Linked DNA regions of Homo sapiens: region 1 is linked to region 2. Evidence: promoter capture Hi-C in human tissues and cell types (Jung and others, 2019). All regions are on one chromosome and are shown on one strand. Each heading gives the region's core, a stretch centred on a gene start or on the middle of the fragment in contact. The rest is flanking DNA. Distances are from core to core; before and after follow the strand shown.

What was found. Contacts are between HindIII fragments. The study calls those that stand out against the background at their distance.
Region 1: a contact is called between a fragment that was not itself captured here and the fragment with the promoter of OLFM2 in region 2, in 1 of the 25 tissues and cell types used here (mesenchymal stem cells).

What each region holds. Positions count from the first base shown.
Region 1 is chr19:10,142,203-10,147,575 of GRCh38, forward strand. DNMT1 (DNA methyltransferase 1) reads right to left here. Exons shown (of 41, transcript NM_001130823.3): 28 at 4,149-4,322; 29 at 1,564-1,785; 30 at 1-18. Among named protein-coding and RNA genes, the nearest start is that of EIF3G, 25 kb to the left of the region's middle. The HindIII fragment of the contact is 3,505 bases long and covers 1-3,432 here.
Region 2 is chr19:9,934,451-9,939,703 of GRCh38, forward strand. OLFM2 (olfactomedin 2) reads right to left here and starts at 2,065. Exons shown (of 6, transcript NM_058164.4): 1 at 1,854-2,065. The coding sequence starts at 1,916. RefSeq lists enhancers at 1,321-1,915, 2,582-3,084. The HindIII fragment of the contact is 7,550 bases long and covers 1-5,253 here.

The sequences.
Region 1 (5,373 bases), core at 430-2,929, 210 kb after region 2:
TTGTGGGTGTTCTCAGGCCTGCGAGCGGGAGAGGCCTCGTTAGGAGCTCTCCTTTGTGGTGAGCTTATGCTGAATTAAACAGTACCATGTTCCTGGGGTGCTCAGGGAACTGCAGGGTAAAGACCCCCTAGTTCGAGAACCGCAGGGTAAAGACCCCCTCAGTTAGGGAACTGCAGGGTAAAGATATCTCCTCCCCACACTGGGGAACTGCAAGGTAGACTCCCCCCCATTTAGGGAACTGCAGGGTAAAGACCCCCCCTAGTTAGGGAACCACAGGGTAAAGATCCCCCAAGTTAGGGAATCGCAGGGTAAAGACCCCTCCCAGTAAGGGAATCACAGGGTAAAGATATCCCCTCCTCACATTAGGGAACTGCAAGGTAGATTCCCCCACAATTAGGGAACCGCCAGGTAATGACCCCCGACCCAGTTGGGAACCGCAGGGTAAAGACCCCCCAGTTATGGAACCGCAGGGTAAAGACCTCCCCAGTTAGGGAGTCATAGGGTAAAGACCCCCCTACTTAGGGAACCGCAGGTAAAGATAACCCCTCCCCAAATGAGGGAACTGCAAGGTAGATTCGCCCCCAATTAGGGAACCACAGGGTAGAGACCCCCCAACCATTAGGTCAGCTTGGCTGCTTGCTCTGCACGCCTGGCCCTGCCCTGCTGTGTCCGCCTGCCGGTAGCAGCCTCTCGAGTGTGTTTCTCTCACCTGTACCACTCACAGCCCTTGTTTTATTTCCTGTTATTACAAAGGCTTCAGGAAATCTTTGATCTATGTTAGCTAAGAGGTGAGGCAAGTGTATAGCTTCCTGTACAGGCTAGTTTCAGGTTAATGCCTAATCACCGCAAGTTACTCGGGTCTTAGAAAAAGAAAACGTAATAGGCCAAAAGCTTAGGAAAGAGAAAAAATCCCAGAGACAGAAAGGAGGACCTGGGAAGAGGTGGGGACAGCGGGACAGAACCTGGACAGTCATAGATGGAGCTTGGGAGGTTCTCTGGGGGTGCCCAGGCACTCTACCCGTTTTTTCTTTTGAGACGGGGTCTGGCTGTCACCCAGGCCGGAGTGCAGTGGTGGGATCATGGCTCACTACAGCCTCAAATTCCTGGGTTTCAGTGATCCCTTCAGCCTCAGCCTCCCAAGTAGCTGGGATTACAGGCGTGTGCCACCACGCCCAGCTAGTCTTTTTTTTTTTTTTTTTTTGGTAGGGCCGGGGTCTCACTACGTTTCCTCAAGCTGGTCTTGAACTCCTAGACTCAAGTGATCTTCCTGCCTCAGCCTCCCAAAGTGCTAGGATTAGAGGCGTGAGCTACAGTGCCCAGCCAGCTTAAGGATTTCTTTTGGAAAAAGGGCTCTGCAACATTAAAATAAGGACCTAAAAGTGAGGGCTGGGAACTAGAATTCTAGTCATTATCAGTGCCCACCGATAATCAGAAACACTTGGAAAAACAGCTACTTCAACCTAACTCTTAGAACAACTGTGGGTGCTATGCCACAACCTTGTTTCAGGCAGAGCCTTCTAGAAGAGTCTGTGGCCTCGTGGAAGAACAGAGGCCTCTGCTGACCTGTAGAACTTGTTGACCCGGATTTTGATGTCAGTCTCATTGGGCCTGCCGTTGCTCTTCTTGGGACAGAAGATCTCTTTGATCCGGCCAATTCGGTAGGGCTCAGGGGCATCCAGGTTGCTGCCTTTGATGTAGTCGGAGTATTTCCGGTAGTGCTCTGGGTACAGGTCCTCATCCACGGGCTCCTTCCGTGGGCGTTTCACGGGACTGGACAGCTTGATGCTGCAGAGAAGCACCCACTTGACATCAATGAACCTTCCACCTTGCAGTGGTCAGTCAGGCATGACTGACCAGTGAAAATAACCATTTAAAGTCAAGCACCTGATGAATTAAGGTAGGTGTGTACCCTAAGAAATGATTTAGGCTGGGCATTGTGGCTCACGCCTGTAATCCCAGCACTTTGGGAGACCAAGGCAGGTGGACCACAAGGTCAGAAGTTCGAGACCACCCTGGCCAACACGGTAAAACCCTGTCTCTACTAAAAATACAAAAATTAGCCGGGTGTGGTGGTACATGCCTATAATTCCAGCTACTTGGGAGGCTGAGGCAGGAGAATTGCTTGAACCCAGGAGGCAGAGGTTGCAGTGAGCTGAGATTGTGCCACTGCACTCCAGCCTGTGTGACAGAGCAAGACTCCATCTCACAGAAAAAAAAAAAAAAGATTTAGCTGCAGATTTAGTCTCACAGTTTGAAGCACGCATTCACCCTCTGCGCATTACTGGCTACGGTGGTGGCTGACACTGCTCAAATACCCCAGGCTCCTGCCTCCCGACTACTTGGCATCTTGTGTTTCCTGGCATGTGACGTGGGCAGAAGTGACCAAAGAGGATGTCACTGCCTGGGGAATGTCCTGTGTGCTTTCCCTTGGGCTCAAACACTGGCAACTTCTGACTCCAGCGGCCCAGATATCCAAGGGACACAACAGGTGGAGTCCTCTGCTGACCTGTGATGGGCACCTCGTATGAGCGAGACAGCGGCTACCGTGGTTTTTGTTGAGAGAGTTTCACTCTGTCACCCAGGTTAGAGTGCAGTGGCACAATCTCGGCTCACTGCAACTCCTCCTCCCAGGTTCAAGCGATTCTCGTGCCTCGGCCTCCCAAGTAGCTGGGATTACAGGTGCCCACCACCACACCCAGCTAACCCTGGCTAATTTATTTTTAGTAGAGACAGGTATGTCGGCCAGGCTGGTCTTGGTCTTGAACTCCTGACAGGCATGAGCCACCGCACCCAGTCCAGCTTCTGTGGTTTTAAGTCACTGTGATTTGGGGTTGTTGCTATGATACAACCTACGCTACCCTGACTAAGGCTCTGATCTAGAAGCGACACTGGAGGCCAATGTAAGGCGCCACAGGGCCTGGGACAATGGGAGTGTGGTCTGACTAGTGTGGAAAAGCTGTTCTTTGAAGAAGGCCTGCCGTTAGGGAAGTCAGCTGTCACGTTCTCCCCACTAGGCCCCCCAGGAGTCTGACGGGCCCCAAAGGCGTCTCTGTGCTGACTCTCCCACTTTGCCAGGAGCAACTGGCAGAAAACACTACGGGGAGGTGTCCCCTTCCCACCAAGGACAACCAGAGGGGGTAACGCGCCCCAACTGTGCCAAGGCTGGAGGGAACCTGCTTCTCCAGTTCTCATAATTCACAGTAACTGAACTAAGGCAAGGGAGCTGGGGCTCTAAGGAAATGGAATTGTGAGCCGGGAAGGCATCTGGAAAACGTTGGCTGTAATTCCAACCACACGCTGATTCTTAGAAAAAACACAGAATGGATCAGTGTGGAAACGATCTGTGGCTTTAGGTTTTTCCTGGAAGAGCCTCGATCCTCTGACACAGAGAAGTCATCTGATGTGATTCCCTCTAACCAAGAAGTAACTCATGTCCGTTAAACCTTTACTTTAAGCCAGGTACTGTATGGAGCACTTTCAACTCACTCAACCCTTCGAGCCCCAGCAGGCAAGATCCCACTCTCCCACTTCACAGTAGGGGACGGAGAGGAGGTGTCCTTGGGCAGAGGCAGAACTTGGGGGTGGGCCCCCAGCTGTCCCTCGCGCTTTATCCAGTAAGTTCTTTTTTTTTCTTTTTTTATTTTGAGACGGAGTCACACTCTGTTGCCCAGGATGGAGTGCAGTGGCATGATCTTGGCTCACTGCAACCTCTGCCTCCCAGGTTCAAGTGATTCTCCTGTCTCTGCCTCTCGAGTAGCTGGGACTACAGGCGCGCACCACCACACCCGGCTAATTTTTGTATTTTTAGTAGAGACGAGGTTTCACCATGTTGGCCAGGCTGGTCTCAGACTCCTGACCTCAGATGATTCCCCACTGCCTCGGCCTCCCAAAGCGCTGGGATTACAGGCGTGAGAAACCACACCCAGCCAAACCAGCGAGTTGACTTTTACGCTCAGCTTTGCTCTGCAATAGCATCATGGTCAGTCTACACGATTTATGTTGTCTGTTTGCCACCTATGCCAACGTGACGGCTAGGACAACAGCTGGTGCGGAGGGATTGGCAATGTCTGTAAGGAGGGGGACACCACAAAGCCAGCCTGGCTCAGCCTGGAGCGCCCTGGCCCCGGCTGCTCCGAGGGGGCACTTACTTGAACGTGAAGGCCTCAGGGGGCAGGTACACACCATCACCAACTCGGTACAGGATGCCGTTCTTGGTGGCTGAGTAGTAGAGGACCCGGCTATCCAGGTCCTCGAGCTGCTCCAGGACCCTGGGGATTTCTTTTTGCCTCATCTCAGCCAGACGGGCACAGCTCACACAGAATCTGAAGGAAACAAAGGGACAGAAACATAAGGCCCTGAGGTGGCCGGCAGTGGCCGCAGCAGCTACTGCCAGCTTAATCCAGAGACTCTGGTAACCAAGAGGAAAAAACATTTGCAGATGCTAGAAGGAAGAGGTGGCTTTCTTGTGCTTTGTGTTGACATTTTGAAGGCACTTATTTGAGACCAAAGCCCAGAGAGAACATAGCAAGAAAATCAGGCAACTTTTGAGTCATTGAGACAAAAACCCTAAGATATCAATGAACAGGGTCTAGAATATGGTTAAGAACACACCACGAGCAACAGTCCCGAGTGGCTCAGTGAGGAACTCAATCCAGCAGAGACTCCTACTGTTCTCTCCATAAAGGCTCAACAGGTATTTGAGGAAATTCAACATTATTCTTGACTAGTAAGCCCTTAAAGGAGACTTGAAGATGGCCTTAAAAATAGAGATCAAGGCCCAGCATGGTGGCTCATGTCTGTAATCCCAGCCCTTTGGGAGGCCAAGGCAGGAGGGTCGCTTGAGCCCAGAAGTTTGAGACTAGCCTGGCCAACACAGTGAGACCCCGTCTCTACAAAAAATTTTTAAAACATTAACCAGGCAGGGTGGTGCATGCCTGCAGTCCCAGCTACTCAGGAGGCTGAGGCAGGAAGATCACTTGAGCCCAGCAGGTCGAGGCTACAGTGAGCTGTGACCACACCACTGCATTCCAGCCTGGGTGACAGAGGGAGACCCTGTCTCAGATAAATAAATAAATAAATAAATAAATAAATAAAAGAGGTTGGGTGATAAATAAATAAGTAAATGAGGTTGGGTGCAGTAGTTCATGCCTGTAATCCCAGCACTTTAGGAGCCTGAAGGGAGCAGATGACCCAAGGTCAGGAGTTCCAGACCAGCCTGGCCAACACGGTGAAGCCCTGTCTCTACTAAAAATACAAAAATTAGCCGGGCATGGTGGCAGGCGCCTGTAGTCCCAGCTACTTGGGAAGCTGAGGCAGGAGAATCACTTGAACCCAGGAGGTGGAGGTTGCAGTGAGCCGAGATCGTGCCACTGC
Region 2 (5,253 bases), core at 815-3,314:
AGCAAACTCTGGCATCCTAGCCAATCTTGGTGAGAAGCCAGAAAATCTAGTGCCCCCCTAGCAGGGAGTGGAGGAGAAGCCACAGGGGGTGGTTCTCTGTCTCCTCTGCTAGGTCAAGGATAATTCAACTTGATTCCTGGCTCATTTTTTTTCCACTGGTTTCTCAAGTGTGTGCCTCTTTTGGTCTCTCGTCTCCCAGGTGTGTCTCTTGGCTTCTCTCAGGCTCACACATCCATTGAGTACCTATTGTGTGTGTCCTCATGCCTGGGGCTGGGCACACTCCCTATCCCACCCAGCGCGTGGGTGCTGAGATGCGTGGGGAAATGGAGGAGCGAGGGAGGGGACCCCACAATCTCTCCTCGTGGCCTGGAAATCCTTCTATCTGGAGTCTAACCTCCATTCCTCCCAACACCCCCCTCGGGGTGAGCACAAGGGTCTGATTCTTTTCTTGATAAGGGGAAGGTGCCCAAATTGTTTCTCCCCTGCCTATCTACCTAAAAGCCCACCTAGCAATGTCTTCACGGACGCTGTCCACACCCATGGAGCGGATTATTTAACAAGAGGGTAATCGTGTGGGCTCAGGAGCCGGACTGCCTCGGTTCAGTCCCACCTCTGTCACTCTCGAGCTTGAGCAAGTGATTTAACTTTTCTGCGCCTCAGTTTCCCCATCCATAAAATGAGGTAACAATACCATGCTCTAGTAGGGAGGAGGCAGAGGGGGTTAAATGCCTTAGTCTGTGCTGTGTGATTGAAACAGCACCTCTCAAATTAGCACGTAATGAATGATCACTGTTATCATAATGACTATTTTATTATTTTTGATCCCAGCTTCCCTGTGAACTCCTACAGATCTGAGAACTTGGGGGTGCTCTCACTCCCAAGATGGAGGAGGAGAGGGGCTTTCCAATAGCAAAAGAGAGCGTGGACGCCCCACATTTTGCAAGCCTCCCTGAGCCTGCCCAAGAGAAAGGTGCCATGGGGAGGGAGACCCGCTTCTGTAAGGGTATGAATGGCGTGTGCGGTTGTGAGCAAGGCACCAAGATACACACACACACGTGCATGGATGGACACGTTTGCACACACAGCGCTTGCACACACACACACCCTTTTAGAGTGATTTACCCAAAGGTACAGAATAGCACACGCTCACTCCAAGGCTCTCACACGGCCACACACCTGGCCACACACGTATTGTACAACACCCAGTCATCTGGAGCCAGTAATGAGGACACGGTCACACACAGACTCTGTCTCACGTACTGATCACACCCCAACTCGGGCACTAGTTGGACAAGCCCCCCAACCGCCACACACACAAACTCCCCCCGGTCACACCCAACCACGACACAAAGACACACACGTTTACCCTGCACCCCCACAGCATTTCACACGCGTCCCCGTCAGTCACTCTCACGTGAGTCCCGTCCCCTGCCCCACACTGGGGGCTGCAGGCGAGGAGTGGAGGGCTTCAGAAACTGGGCATCTCGGCCCCGAAGAGGAAGTCAAGGGTAAGCAACCGCCCCCCTCCAATGCCCCCTGAAGTTTCCCTCCCAACCCCATTCAGCTCCAGCGAGATGGCGGGGTGGGGGCTCGGGGCCATGGAGGGGTTGAGAACCCCAAAGACGCCACCCCCCAAACCAGCCCAGCTTGAGGCTGGATTTGAAGCCCCCCTCGTCCTCTCCCAAGCCAGAGAGTGCACGTCCCGGCCCCTCCCCCGCTGCGACCCCCGCCCCTCGCCGCCCTGCAGCTGGGGGGGCTTGTGGAGCCTCCCAACCCCGTTTCTCCGGGAACCCTCCGCGCCCCCCTCCTCTCCCGGAGCCACCCGCGCCCGCACCTGCCCGCCGGGCCCCTACCTGTCCGGCCAGGCCTGAGCACAGCAGCAGCAGCAGCGGCGGCGGGACCGTGAGCGGCCACATGACGCGCCCCTAGCCCGGCGTCCCGACCCCCGCCCGCCCTAGCGGCGCCTCGGCGCGGGGACCGCCACCAGGCGCGACCCCGCCCGCCCGGCCGGGGCGACCCTGCGCCGCCGCCTCCCCCGCCTCGCCGGCGGCCGGGATTCCGCCCCACCCCCGCCCCCTCGCTCGCTCCGAGTCTTTGTTGCGGGCTCCGCCCCCCGCCCCGCCCCCAGCTCCTCTTCGGGAGCAGCTCGAGCAGGGTCGGGTGGGGGGGTGGGGGCGGGGAAGTGGGGGAGCCAGCGCCGGCGAGGGGACCTGAGGACAGGACTTGGCAGCGCCCCCCAACCCCCAGGCCATTCCGGGAGCGGGTCGCGGAGGTGGGGGAGGGGTGCCCGTCACGTGTTTGTAAATTTCACCCTCCGGGGGCATTTCCCACGTTGCAGGTGGGACGGGGACGAATGGTTGGGGGAGAGGAATAGGAGGAAGGCCTGGTAGCAGAGAGGGGAAATGATGAACGCCCCCTCCCTAAAAACTCAAGAGTCAACAGGGAAACTGAGGCAGAATCTGAAATTGGAAGTTGGAGGAGGGGTCAATGCCAGGACAAGAGGGGTGAGGCATAGATGGAGACGGGGAATAAGAGGAAAAAATTGAGGTTGGGGGGACAGGAGACCGAGAATCAGGCAAGAGGCCAATGGAAATGGCCACGTGGGTGGGCTTGGCCTCAAAAAGGGGCGTCTCGTTTTCACTCTCCCCGGGCGCCCCATTTCCCCACCAGTCCTCCCGCTGGAAGCCTCCCCGCCTCCGCCACACCTGGAAGAGTTTCTCTTCGCTCCCTGTTTCAATAGCCCAAGATGAAAGACCACATCCCCCGAGAGAATCAAAATATTAACACCGCCTCCACGCGAAGCCATTTGCATATGAAGGGCGTCCTTGTCTAGCCTCACTTTCGGGAGGCTTTCCAGCCTTTCTCTGCCTCTCACTCCTCCAAAAGTCTCCCTAGGCCGGGCGCGGTGGCTCACGCCTGTAATTCCAGCAATTTGGGAGGCTGAGGAGGGTGGATCATCTGAGGTCAGGAGTTCAAGACCAGCCTGGCCAACATGGCAAAACCCCACCTCTACTAAAACATACAAAAATTAGCCGGGCGTGGTGGTGCATGCCTGGAATCCCAGCTACTCGGGAGGCTGAGACAGGAGAATCGCTTGAACCCGGGAGGCAGAGGTTGCAGTGAGCAGAGATCGTGCCATTGCACTCCAGCCTGGGCAACAGGAGCAAACCTTGTCTCAAAAAAAAAAAAAAAAAAAAAGTGTCCCTAGTCGTCTTTCCTCCCCACAGCCCCTCTAGGGATTCGGATATATGTAGGCAGAGGTGGAGGAGGGGGGCGGGCAAATAAGTCAGATTGGAAAGAAATCGGGCATAAAATATGCGAGGCCAGGAAGCCTGGCATTTTTGTGACCCTGATACTGTTGGGCTAGGAGGGGTCTCCCCAGACGCTGGTGGGGCCTCGACCCCAGCTGGTGTCCAGGCTCTTAACACCATCGCAAGAATGAATTCAAGGAGGAATCAGAAAATCATGAAAAGTTCGGAGATTTTTTTGTTAAGGGAAAAGTCCACACTTGAGAAAAGGGAGTGGGCGTACTTAAGAGAGAGAGATGGGCAAGGTGGTTTGGGACTGCTACCTTTATGTGTCTCTTTTTTTTTTTTTTTTTTTTTTTTTTTGAGACAAAGTCTCGCTCTGTCACCCAGGCTGGAGTGCAGTGGTGTGATCTCGGCTCACTGCAACCTCTGCCTCCCAGGTTCAAGCAATTCTCCTGCCTCAGCCTCCTGAGTAGCTGGGATTACAGGTGTGCGCCATCACAGCCGGCTAATTTTTTGTGTTTTTAGTAGAGACAGGGTTTCACCATATTGGCCAGCCTGGTCTCAAACTCCTGACCTCGTGATCCACCCGCCTTGGCCTCCCAAAGTGCTGAGATTACAGGCGTGAGCCACCACAACAGGCCACTGTGTATCTCTTTAACCAAGGGATGGAATATTCATGAAAACTGGAAAAAGGTGGACTGTGGTGCCACCCACTTTTACACCAAATTTGGGTGTCCCTGGAATTGTCAAGGGCGCTGGTGGGTGGGTAATTTTAGTATTTTAATGAGTACATAATGAGATCCTAGGTGAAACCTAGGTAGAATGTAACGCCATGTTGGGTCCAGTAGGTCTTAGCCAGCTTGGTCCACACCCTGGTTTTCAGGATCTTATCAGCCCATAGCCTCTAGTCATGTGAAACGGCTGCCTGTGACCACCCTGGATCATTCCTGTCTCAACCCTACTGGGGATAAAACATGTCGATGATGGTTTTGTCAGGTCAATGAGAAAGAGCTTGGTGACCCACAGATCTGGGTTCAACCCTGGTGCTGCCACTTCTTGGCCATGTGACCTTAGGGAAAAAGCTTTCCCCCTCTTAGAAGACCTGTTTTTTGCAGTTATTGGGAGACATCTGTGACTCTAAGCAAAGAGAGCACCTAGCTAGCACTCACTCCCCAGCACGCCTTGCAATAACCAACCATGCACTGGGTTGAGGACACTCATCATGGGATGTGGACACAAAATAGAGTCTGAGCCTGCGAAGACATCCTGTTTATTCTTCTATCTCTTTTTTTTTTTTTTTTTTTTGAGATGGAGTCTCACACTGTCACACCCAGGCTGGAGTGCAGTGGCTTGATCTCGGCTTACAACCTCTGCCTTCCGGGTTCAAGGAATTCTCCCGCCTCGGCCTTCCAAGTAGCTGGGATTGCAGGTGCCTGCCACCAGGCCTGTCTAATTTTTCATATTTTTAGTAGAGATGGGGTTTCACCATATTGGCCAGGCTGGTCATGAACTCTTGACCTCAGGTGATCCACCTGCCTCAGCCTCCCAAAGTGCTGGGATTACAGGCATGAGCCACCGCACCCATCCTATTCTTCTATCTCCTTTTCCCAAATGGGAGACAGTCCTTTGTGGGCCCTTCAGGCCAAGCCTGCAGTTGGCATTGCATAAAAGGAGGACATTGGTTGGTAGGACCCACAAGCTCTTGACCAAGAGTGGGTCTCACGGTCAAGAGTCAGCACTCTTGACTCATGAATGCTGCATTTCAGGACCATGAACAGTGTCCTCCTTGGGCTCTGGTCACTAAGACGATCACAGTTACAACTAAGCTACAGCCTGTGTTATATGGTTGGAATTTGGTCGATATGCACTTAGATCTATTCCCCACTTTCCCCCTGCTCCCCTCTGTATCAGGGCAATGGCTCCTGCAAATTATCTTTCTCAGGTTCTCTACACACTACATTTCCCAGGCTTCTTTGCATCTGGTTAGGCTCAGCCAATGGGA